Linked DNA regions of Homo sapiens: all the other regions are linked to region 2. The links are contacts of gene promoters, found by promoter capture Hi-C in blood cells and fetal thymus (Javierre and others, 2016). All regions are on one chromosome and are shown on one strand. Each heading gives the region's core, a stretch centred on a gene start or on the middle of the fragment in contact. The rest is flanking DNA. Distances are from core to core; before and after follow the strand shown.

Region 1 (2,911 bases), core at 179-2,678, 530 kb after region 2:
TGAGCAAAAAATGAGCAAAAAACCCAGTCAGGGCTAGAGTGTAATCATGACGAATAAACTGGGGGTTTCATGATATTTCTGACACCTGTTTGACTACAGAGACACTGAACTGTCCTCTGCCAGGTCCAGCCTGGGCTCTAGAGCCTGCGTCTGAGGCCCCTGCCCCACTCGTTGGGAGCAGCTCCAGGGCTCCCCCACCTCCCTTCCCTCTCCTGTTTCAAAAGTATTGACTTTGAGGATCAGAAATGGTCCTAACTGTTGCTTTTTCATTTTAACTAAAACTCTCAAATTTAGAGTGTTTTTCCCTTTTCAATACACCTTTTTAATATTGCTTTTTTTTTTTTTTTTAAGATGAAGTCTTGCTCTGTCCCCCAGGCTGGAGTGCAGTGGCGCAATCACAGCTCACTGAAGCCTCGGCCTCCTGGGCTCAAGCCGTCCTCCTGCCTCAGCCTCCTGAGTAGTTGGGACCACAGGTGCCACCAGCACACTCAGCTAATTCTTTTAAAATTTTTTTGTAGAGACAAGATCTAACTCTGTTGCTTATTGCATTTTTTTATTTCAAATGTTTATACCAAATTTTTTTCTAAGCTTCTAAGAAAGAGCTGAAATTCACAAAATCCAATTCATACTAATTCTAGAAGAAACAATACTTGCCCTTCTGCAGGTGAGCAATTCCTATTGTAAGCGTCTGACACCAGACGCCCTTCCCCCCTTCTTCCTTCCTTCCTCTCTCCCCCCACAGGTCAGGGTGGGACAGCGCAAGAGAGAAAGTTGGAGACACCACGAATCCCGTCACAAACACTCTTAGGCCACTTCCATAAAAGTGTAAGAGGTTCTAGGCATCAGGCTAAAGTACTGCTGTTGAGGTCCATAATGTCTACACCAGGGTGCCACTTGGGGGTTTGGCAAGGCAGGCTGAGGAGCAGGAAGTAGCAGATTCTGATCCTGTCTCTGAAAAGTGATTTTATTTGTTGAATATCCCAGCACTGAGCTGTGAATTAAGATTCACTAAAGGAATCAAGGTTCTTGTAAAATATCCAGGACCACAAAGCAGAGATATTTTTCCTTATGGTTCAATAATTTTAAAGTTCAAATTAACTTAAAACAGTAACATGCTTTTCGTGAATGGTGCTTTGACCATGGGTTTAGACACCGAGGAAGCAGAGGAAGTTGGTGCACAGGAAACAGCCTGGGAGGCCCTTGGCAGCTGAGGCACACGTCTGCACCTCTTGCCATGGAAGGTTGGCTTGTCTTCTAAAAATCGTATCCGAGGAAGATTCTACCACTTCCTCGATAAACCACTGACAGCCTTGAAGTTTTCTTCATGCCTCGATCCAACGAGAATGCCCTGTCCTGCAATTTTAGATGATTTCCTCTTACACTGACCTTATTTTCTTTGAGAACGTAATTAATGACATGAGTCTTGTCATTTTTCTTTTCTGTGCTTTAAAAAAAACAAAAGGTTCTGATGCTCATGTTGCAATACATTTTAAAATGCTGCTTCATTCTGCCTTCCTCAGGTACCTCACTCCGGATTCTATTAAAATCGTAATCTCTAGAAGATGGATTCAGCAAATGCCAGGCGTGGAGCCATGAATGTTTCCATAAGAAACAAGAAAAATAGAAAGAATGTGTGTTAGCCAGACGACACCTTGATGGCACCCCTGCCACCTCCCCAGCCCTCCTCAGTGGCAAAGTGATTTAGCTCAGTTGGGCTTCTCCAAAATGGAAATAGTCACTTGTTTGAGCAAATAAATGTAATGAAAGTTGTTCCGGAAAAATTCTAGTACTCTGCACTAATACATATCATCTTAAAAACTTATCTCTGAATTGTTTCCAAATGACAAATGTGTAAAGTTTCTAAGTACTTTTTGTTTCCTTATCCTTGTAGTGGAAGATACTACATTCAACACAGACGTACTGTGTGCCTCCTGCGTGTGAGGCCTGGTGCTCATGGCGCGTGTCCTTGCATGCAAAATTCTACTCTTCATCTTGACGTTTCTAGACATTCAGCTGTTCCTCAGGAAACGATTTACCTTCCCTCTGCCTTTTCTGTAAAATGCATGGACTGAGGAATTACTAATGCATAACACTTTGTTTGCTGGATACCAAGTAGACGCACTCTTACCATATACAGGGCTGTATCTAGGCAGCCAGTTATTAGAATAAAAACAGAATACTATGTTCATCCGCTCAGATAATCCCTGTGTTTGGCTTCATGTTATGGTTCGAAACTCCTAGTGACATTGGTAAGAGTGAACACGAGAATGAAGCTTCTTTCATGATGAAATGTCCTGAGTGTGTGTCTGTGTGTTCTCAAATTATAGCTCACATGGATAGAGAACGTTTTCTTGCTTCAGCCTCAAGTGGGGATTGGGTTGCAGTGGTGAACCAGGGCCAACACAGCCCGCCCTCTTTGAGGTTGCAGTCTCCTGGGACACACGCCCACTAAACAAACAGCTACACGAATTAATCATGCCACAGGGCAAACTGCAAGAGCACCATCACGTGCGGCAGGTAACCCAGGCGGGTCATTTTCGTGGCGGAAGAAGGTCACACTGGAAGTCACCAGACAGATGGAAGATCCCACTCAAAGTCGCAGAGTGGGGGCGGATGGAGAACCAGGCTGCCAGGGCGCTGGCTGGAGCCGAGCGGTAACAGACCCGTGGGAGAATAACGAAACGAGGCTCCAAGACAGGCGGGAGCCGGATGGTGCATGACCTGAGAGGCCAAGTCAAGGATTTTGAACTCCACGCTAAGAGCAGCCGGAAGCCGTTCGCTGGCGCCAGCTGAGCACATGCGCAGAACCGTGCCCTGAAAGGCACCGTCCCCTGCAGACGGGAGGAGGTGCTCCCAGCACTGCTGCAGACGCTGCCGTTTCCCTTTCAAGGACTCAGCAGAGTGGGCAATC
Region 2 (2,874 bases), core at 361-2,860:
CTCTAAAAGAATCAACTTTAAAGATAGCTATAATTGATCACATCCATATCAAATACTAATAATTACTTTGGTCCATGTCCCCTCACTCCCAGATTTTAACCTATATACCAGGTGCACCTATGTGTCTCCTCATTTTGAGTTCAGGCTCATTGAATTTTAAAGACCACTTCAGACCTCAGATAGGCAGTAAGTTTATAAAAGCCACCCTTGTCTGCCTCAATATATAGAAATTTTTCTTTACTGTTGGTGACCTGTTACTCAGACTCATTGCCAAGAAATACAGCATAGTGTTTGGGAGTGTGAAGTTTTAAGTCCAACTGATTTAGGTTTCTAGCCCTGCTCTGCTCTTTTTCTTAGCTGTGTAAACTTGGCCTGTTTGCTTTTCCTCCTTTATTTAGTTCGTTCTTTCCTCTGTAAAATGTAGACACCAGGGAAACAAGAACCTGAAATTTCGCCATTATTTTGAGAATTCTCTTTTTAAGAGTAATCTTAAAATGTTTTAGGGTCTTCAAAAAATTGTTTTGCCTGTCATCTCTATCTTCATCCTATTATAGGTCCACGAAGTAAGTACGAAGAGAAACCAGTATAGGCCAATTGGACCGAGTACTAGCATACAGGTTCTGGTCCCAGCTCTATCATTACAGCTTTGTATCCTTGGGCAAACTAATTTTCTGTTAAAGTATCAATAAAATATAGAGTCTTTAATACATTAACGGTTTTCAAAGCCTAATCATATAGAAATACCTGTTATACCACCAATAAAACTGAATAATGACCCTTTCCATCAATATCAGTAAGTTTTGGACAGGGTATTTTCAACTTAAGTTTTTTTCTCCTGTACATTCTTCAAATATCCAGACTGCTGATGTTTTAAAAACCCAAAACATGGCACTATTCTGCCTGGTTTATCAAATTATTTTTTTAATACAACACACTCATTTTTCGCTAGCAAAACTGCTTATAATGGCACTAAATACACTAACATACTGTGTTTTAGTACAAAGCAATAATACTCAGAGTACTCTCAGGAAATCCGCAAGCTGAGTAAATTTGAAAAGAAGATCTTGTAACCACCCTTCCAATCGACTTATGTAGGGTTCTATGGCCCTAATTAAAAAACAAGAAAACTTTAGCACTCAAGTCCAAAGGGGACTGCCCAACTCAGTCTCAGGCTTCAATTTCGCATCTGGGGAAAAAAGAAACACAAAAGGGAGATGCTGCCTCCTTGGCTCTGGGGGTGGTGACGGGAGCGGGGCCCACTGGGGAGCGATTTCACTTAAACGGTCGGACATAGCCGTCTCGGGCCCCTAGCAGTCTCCGCACTCACTGCCTCCTTCTCGAACATGCTAGGCCTCCTTTCTTTCCTAGGCGTCACCGGAGCCTGCTGAGGGGTCTGGTTCGGGGTCTGGATGGGGCTCGACTTCACGCCTCGGCCTCGCTTCTCCATCTCGCTCTGTTCTCCAAGACGCCCACCGCCTCCCCTTCACCGCCGGCGGTCAAACGCCCTAGCCAGTCCCGCGAGGGCGGAAGTCTCCCACCTGCGCCTCGTACGGTAGGAAGTGCCCGCCAGGGCTCCAAAGCGCCTGGAGGAGGGGCGCGCAGGCGCCTGCGTCATTCACGCGCGCCGCAGCGGGGCACCGGAAGTTATGGAGGTAGGGCGGGTGTAGGGCCCGGTTCGATCCCGAGCTAGGCAGGGAGTCGGCGCCAGGCTGGGTGGTGCTCGGCTACGCGGAGTGGGCGAGCGAGCACGCGCCTGCGGTGGCCGGCGGTCCCGCGCTGGAGGGCGCTGGCGACGTCGCGGCCCTGGCCTCTGTGGCGGTATCGGACGCTCGGCCCTGCAAGACGCCTGGCGGGCCCTGCCGGCCTCCCTGGGCCAGGCTCGGTTTCTCCGTCGCCTCCTGGCCCTGAGCTGGAACGCGGCGGACGGTCAGGGAGGGCTGTGCGCGGTGGCGCGGGGGCGGAAAGCCGCAGGTCGGGCTCTCACCTGACCGTGGCTCGTTCCTAGAAGCGCAGTTTCCTAGTCGCTGCCTGTAGGGTCCACACTCGGACAGTAAATTTGTGTTCATCGCCGGGCGTGGTGGGGCCTGTGGTCCCATCTACTCCGTAGGCTGAGGTGGAAGGATCGCTTTAGCCCAGGAGGTGGAGGCTGCAGTGAGCCGAGATCGCGCCACTGCACCCCTGTCTGGGCGACGGCGAGACCCCGTCTCCAAAATGATGATAACGATAACTACCATTTTTGAGTACTATGTGCTAGATGCTTTTCATGTGTTATCTGATTACTGTAGCCCTACCAGGTGCAGCCTGGCACCGTTTTATTTCACTTAGAACTGAGATTCCGATAAAGTAACTTTTCCAAGGCAAGAGGTAGTCAGAGGCTGAGGAATGATTCAAATTTAAGTCCAGCTCCAAAGCACCGGCCCAGTGTAGTCTGCAGAGTTCCAGCCCCATAGAGCCACATGGAGGATGCGAGTGACAATCGCCAATCAACAAATAGTTGATGTAGATTTCTTTAGTGATGACTTAATTGTTAGGGCCTGCTGGGATTGTTCGAAAACCAGGGCTGAGAGTGGAAAGTGCAACTTCTGGGTGCAGGAGGAGCAAACAGGGCAACTGATAGCAGTTTCCACATTAGGAAGCTGCCCAGAGCTAATTATGACTGTCACAACACAGCCCCCCCTTAACTCAACACACCAAAATAAAGAGCTTCGGTTCCGCTTTAGATCCTGAATTTGACTTCTTTGCAGGTTTATACGATGGTCTTAGTGTCATGTGGGGTAATTGTGAGGATTTCGATTGTATTTAATTCTCCATGGAAAACCAGTACGGTTTGCTACTTTTTACATGGCAGGGAAGGCTAAACTTTACCTCTGCCCA
Region 3 (2,700 bases), core at 102-2,601, 790 kb after region 2:
TTGGAAGCCATGAGAATACACAAAAATAATCCAAGCCATGGTAGTAGGTAAGGACCCGTAAGAGAGTAGGGAGAACACAGAGAGAGATGGTGAGGTTTCTGTAGGACACATCAGCCAAACTCAAACAGTCATTTGTAAGAAAGTCTTTATTTCTTGGCTCTCCTAAGCTAACGAAGAGGAGAACTTGAAGGAAAGCACGACTTATGTATATAGACAGGTCCAAGGGACACATCCGCAAGACACAGTAAAACGAAGAGAATTCTGTAACCTGTAAAATACGATACTGCTTTTGTTTAAAAGAATAAGAAAACTATTTGTACAAGCACAAAAAAGTCTGGAAAGATAAGTAACTGTGGCTGGTCATCTTTGAGCTCTGAATTAGAGGCAAGAAAAGAAGGGAATTAATTCATGTGCTTCTATCTTATTTGAGTTTGTTACAAAGAACACAGGTGATTCTACAATCGTTAAAAAGGCCTGTTAAAAACAACCGTGTTCTGGGTATGAGAAATCACGAGTCATTTACAAGGTATGATTTTTTAAAAACATAACTGATTTAGAAAACACATTATATACCAGAACTCAGTACCCTGGGAGATGTGATATAGGGACAATCTCCTTACTAACCATGTACAACTGCCACTGTTAGCTTTGTATGTTTTCTACTATAGAACTGCGTAAACTTGGCCAGGCGCGGTGGCTCACGCCTGTAATCCCAGCACTCTGGGAGGCTGAGGTGGGCCGATCACGAGGTCAGGAGTTCGAGATCAGCCTGGCCAACACAGTGAAACCCCATCTCTACTAAAAATACAAAAATTAGCTGAGCATGGTGGCACGTGCCTCTATTCCCAACTACTTGGGAGGCTGAGGCAGGAGAATCGCTTGAACCCAGGAGGCGGAGGTTGTGGTGAGCCGAGATCATGCCACTGCACTCCAGCCTGGGCAACAGAGCGAGACTTGGTCTCAAAAAAAGAAAAAGGATTGTGTAAACTGAATTCTCTGGTGGAGAAGGCACCATCTGAGGTCACCTAAGAAACTGGGAAGTATTTTTGCTGGAAGCAAGCTTGGGACAAGACATGAGATCACAGCAGGCAATCCACTAACCTCAATATACAAAAAAAGAAAGAGATGTAAGGTGTAAAGGCAGAAAAATGATTGTATCTCTCATGAGGATGACAGGCCACAAGTAAACTGAGGCCCAAAAGCTTTACCCAAGGATGGAACCAATCTCAGAAAACCACACACAACAAATTTAAAAAAATAAACCAAAGAAAGGGTGGGCTATGTCCAAGAACACAGCTTTAAAGACCCCCTAGAAGAAGCAAGAGAGACACTAGTAAAATCAGTATAAAACAGCAAAAATCAATAAATAAAAACAAAAATAAATGTAGAATGGCATGAATCTTGATTACAAAGTGCTTTTCCTCATCAAAGTAAAATCCAAAAAGCACAATCATTTCAATGTAAAAAATAAAATCAGACAAGTCTTAAAAGAAATACAGCTAAGCTTTGGATGGGAGAAGTTTTTCTAACAAGGCAAGAAACTGAATGTCATAAAGAAATGATTGACAGATTAGACTGTATGAAACACAGCAATTTCTGTGTAGCAAAAGGCACCACCCAAAAGAGACAAATAACACTCTTGGGAGTATCTATAATATCACAGACATTTGACACAGTCGAATGTAGTTCTTGAAAATCAGTAAGAAGAAAACTAACCTGCAAATAAGGAAATGGGCAACAGTTAATATATGAATCAGTCTCCAAAGAGGAAATTTATAAAGTCAATAAACATATGAAAACATGCCCAAGAATATATATAAATGAAAATAATAAACTGTTCAATAGGCAAAAAGATGTTTCAAAATGTGTTAATTCTAATACTGGGAAGGTTATATAAAATCGGGTACTCAGGGTACTGGCGTATCCTTCAGAAAGAGTATACTCAACAAAATACAAAAAAAAATTTATCTGACCCAATACTTCAACTACTCGAAGTTTATTCTAGCAAGACAAGCATAATTGGGGAAGTACACAAAAATGTATGTACAAGGATGTTCATCATAGTGTTTATATTAAGAAAACAGGAAGCCAAAATGCCCTTTAGAGGACTGGTTAGGTAAATGATGCTATGTATTACAGCAGCAAAAACAGAAGACAAAAAAATTTTTTGTTAATTAAATACAAAAATCATTATGCATATAGCTTAGATCTCCTTGATAATACATAATGTATAGTTACAGAAAAACAGATACCAAAGTCCTACTTACATAAAACTGCATGAGTGTATGTATAAACATGTACTGATTGTTTTCACTACAGAAAAACTAAAGCCACTTTTAATTTGGGAGAAAAATTTTTAAAAGGCATGAGAGCAGCTAAGAGATTAAAGACAGAGAGGTTAGTGCAGACAGCGGTTGACACCAAGGGAAAGAGCTGTGGACCTTGCTGTCCTGAAGGTTTCAATATGGAGCACTGCTCTCCAGGTCCCTGCATCCACCAACACAGAAGACAGTAAAGGAAGTCTCCTGAGACATTAGCAGAGGCTCTGGACTTAGGGGACCAGGCTCTAGAGTGGCAAAGGGTAGGAGCAAAACACATGAAATGGAAAGTTGATGTAAACAAAACACAGACCTTCAGCCCCCTTCCTCCTCTGAGGCCTAAAAAGCTGCCAACCGGGCTTCTCTTCCTGTAGTCCCACCT
Region 4 (2,700 bases), core at 52-2,551, 770 kb after region 2:
AACCCTAAATACTCCACCAAAAGGCTCCTAGAATTGATAAACAATTTCAGTAAGGTTGTAGAATACAAAGTCAATGTATAAAAATCAGTAGCATTTTTATACACCAATAACATTCAAGCTGAGAACCAAATCAAGAACATGATCTCATTTACAACAGCCACAAAGAAAATAAAATACCTAGGAATACATCTAACTAGGAGGTGAAAGATCTCTACAAGAAGAACTACAAAACACTGCTGAAAGGAATCATAGATGATACAAACAAATGGAAAAACATTCCCTACCCATGGACTGGAAGAATCAGTATCATTAATCTGGCCATACTGCCCAAAGTAATCTACAGATTCAATGCTATTCCTATCAAACTACCAATGTCATTTTTCAAATAACTAGAAAAAACTACTGTAAGATTCATATGGAACAAAAAAAAATCCAAATAGCCAAAGCAATATTAAGCAAGAAGAACACAGCCAGAGGCATCACATTATCCGACTTCAAACTATACTATAATACTACAGTAGCCAAAATAACTTGGCACTGGTACAAAAACAGACACATAGACTAATGGAACAGAATACAGAACCCAGAAATAAAGCCACACACCTACAGCCATCTGATCTTCAACAAAGTCAACAAAAATAAGCAATGGGGAAAGGGCTCTCTAAACAATAAATGGTGCTGGGTTCGCTGTCTAGTCATACACAGAAGAATGAAACTGGATTCCTACCTTTCACCGTATACAAAAATTAGTTCATGTGGATTAAAGATTTAAATGTAAGACCTCAAACTGTTAAGAATCCTAGAAGAAAACCTAGGAAAAACCATTCTAGACATTAGCCTTAGGAAAGAACTTGTAATTCAGTCCTCAAAAGCAATTTCAACAAAAACAAAAATTGACAAGTGGGACATAATTAAAGGGCTTCTGCACAGCAAAAGAAACTATCAACAGAGTAAACAGACAACCTACGGAATGGGAGAAAATATTCAAAAAACACACATCTGACAAAGGTCTAATATCCAGAACCTACAAGGAACTTAAACAAATGAACAAGCAAAAAACAACCCCATTAAAAAATGGGCAAAAGACATGAAAAGACGCTCCTCAAAAGAAGACAGACATGCAGCCAACAAACGCAAAAAAATGCTCCATATCACTAATCATCAGAGAAATGCAAATCAAAACCACAATGAGATACCATCTCACACCAGTCAAAATGGCTATTACTAAACAGTCAAAAAACAACAGATGCTGTGATGCTGTGGAGAAAAAGGAATAATTATACACTGTTGGTGGGAAGGTTAATTAGTTCAGCCACTATAGAAAGCAGTTTGAAGAGTTCTTGAAAAAGTTAAAACAGCACTACAATTTGGCCCAGCAATCCCACTACTGGGTATATATCCAAATGAAAACAATTCATTCTACCAAAAAGACACATGCACTGGGCACAGTGGCCCACGCCTGTAATCCCAGCACGTTGGGAGGCCGAAGTTGGAGGATGACCTGAGGTTGGGAGTTTGAGACCAGCCTGACCAACATGGAGAAACCTTGTCTCTACTAAAAATACAAAATTAGCCAGGTGTGGTAGCGCATGCTTGTAATCCCAGCTACTCAGGAGGCTGAGGCAGAAGAATTGCTTGAACCCAGGAGGCAGAGTTTGCACATCATTGCACTCCAGCCTGGGCAACAAGAGCGAAACTCTGTCTCAAAAAGAAAAAAAGACATGCACACACACATTCATCACAGCACTACTGACAATAGCAAAGACATGGAATCAACCTAGGTGCCTATCAACAGTGGATTAGATAAAGAAAATGTGGTACATATACACTATGGAATACTATGCAGTCATAAGAAATGGAAATGGACAGAGAAAAAGAAGGCGGGGGACGGGATCAGAGGCAGCTTCACAGAGAGGCACACTTGAGTCAAAACTTGACTCACGTTTGAAAGATGAATGTGAGTTTCCAGGCATATGGGAGCTAGGGGTGCATGGAGGGGTTGTGGGTCCCCGCTGGGAAAATAGCCTGTAAGGCATAACAGGAATAACTGTGATTCACTGAGGACGTACTGTGTTAGGCACTGGAACAAGAGCTTTACAAACATTATCTCATGTACTCTTCACTGGGTGCCTATGAGGAAGGTACTATCATCCACATTTCATAAGTGAGGGAGCAAGGCCTACGGACTTCCACTAACTGCCTGAGGCCACACAGACAGGAAGAGATGGGGTAGGCCTGATTCTCTGTCTTTTGGATTCCAGAGCCTACAACCACTTCAGTATCTTTGGGCAACGATAAGCAACTTGCTGTTGCCAGAAAAGTGAGGGTCAGAGACCCTTAAAAGTGAGGGGAGGTGACCAGCCTCTGACAGTACACGTAGCAGAGGAGCTTGGCTGCCTCCCGTAGGCTGTGGTGGAGCACAGCGGCCTGAGTAGCATGGGGAGAAGCCTAACCTGCCTTTCCATTGCTCACTCTGGCAGCCTGTGAGTGCGCAGCCCCGGACAGGAGCCCATCCCAGGGACTGGCTGCACAGCTGTTCTGCAAAAGTAAAGAAACCACGTCTCCTCAGTCCTTACACCTGACTTCTTGTAAATGTCCAGTTCTTGTTAGGTTTTCTAACATATCGCCCCTGGACTCCTGTTCTAACCTGATGTCTTATAAACATTCAGGGCTCCTTGGAAAACCCAGGGTTTCTCTGAG

Evidence for each region. Contacts are between HindIII fragments. The CHiCAGO score rates a contact against its expected background, and 5 or more counts as called.
Region 1: a contact is called between a fragment that was not itself captured here and the fragment with the promoter of ERMARD in region 2, in 1 of 17 cell types (activated CD4 T cells). The highest score is 5.8, in activated CD4 T cells.
Region 3: a contact is called between a fragment that was not itself captured here and the fragment with the promoter of ERMARD in region 2, in 16 of 17 cell types (monocytes, total CD4 T cells, M1 macrophages and 13 more). The highest score is 19.3, in monocytes.
Region 4: a contact is called between a fragment that was not itself captured here and the fragment with the promoter of ERMARD in region 2, in 8 of 17 cell types (endothelial precursors, total B cells, monocytes and 5 more). The highest score is 8.4, in endothelial precursors.

What each region holds. Positions count from the first base shown.
Region 1 is chr6:170,277,689-170,280,599 of GRCh38, forward strand. LINC01624 (long intergenic non-protein coding RNA 1624) reads left to right here. Exons shown (of 2, transcript NR_104177.1): 2 at 1,521-1,781. Among named protein-coding and RNA genes, the nearest start is that of LINC01624, 6.7 kb to the left of the region's middle. The HindIII fragment of the contact is 1,685 bases long and covers 587-2,271 here.
Region 2 is chr6:169,750,012-169,752,885 of GRCh38, forward strand. ERMARD (ER membrane associated RNA degradation) reads left to right here and starts at 1,611. Exons shown (of 18, transcript NM_018341.3): 1 at 1,611-1,652. The coding sequence starts at 1,647. It overlaps DYNLT2 (dynein light chain Tctex-type 2), which reads right to left and starts at 1,561. Exons shown (of 4, transcript NM_174910.3): 1 at 1,328-1,561. The coding sequence starts at 1,447. The HindIII fragment of the contact is 8,653 bases long and covers 1-2,874 here.
Region 3 is chr6:170,537,737-170,540,436 of GRCh38, forward strand. All of the region lies in intron 4 of PSMB1 (proteasome 20S subunit beta 1), which reads right to left. Among named protein-coding and RNA genes, the nearest start is that of PSMB1, 14 kb to the right of the region's middle. The HindIII fragment of the contact is 302 bases long and covers 1,201-1,502 here.
Region 4 is chr6:170,520,584-170,523,283 of GRCh38, forward strand. No RefSeq gene overlaps it. Among named protein-coding and RNA genes, the nearest start is that of PSMB1, 31 kb to the right of the region's middle. The HindIII fragment of the contact is 3,242 bases long and covers 1-2,700 here.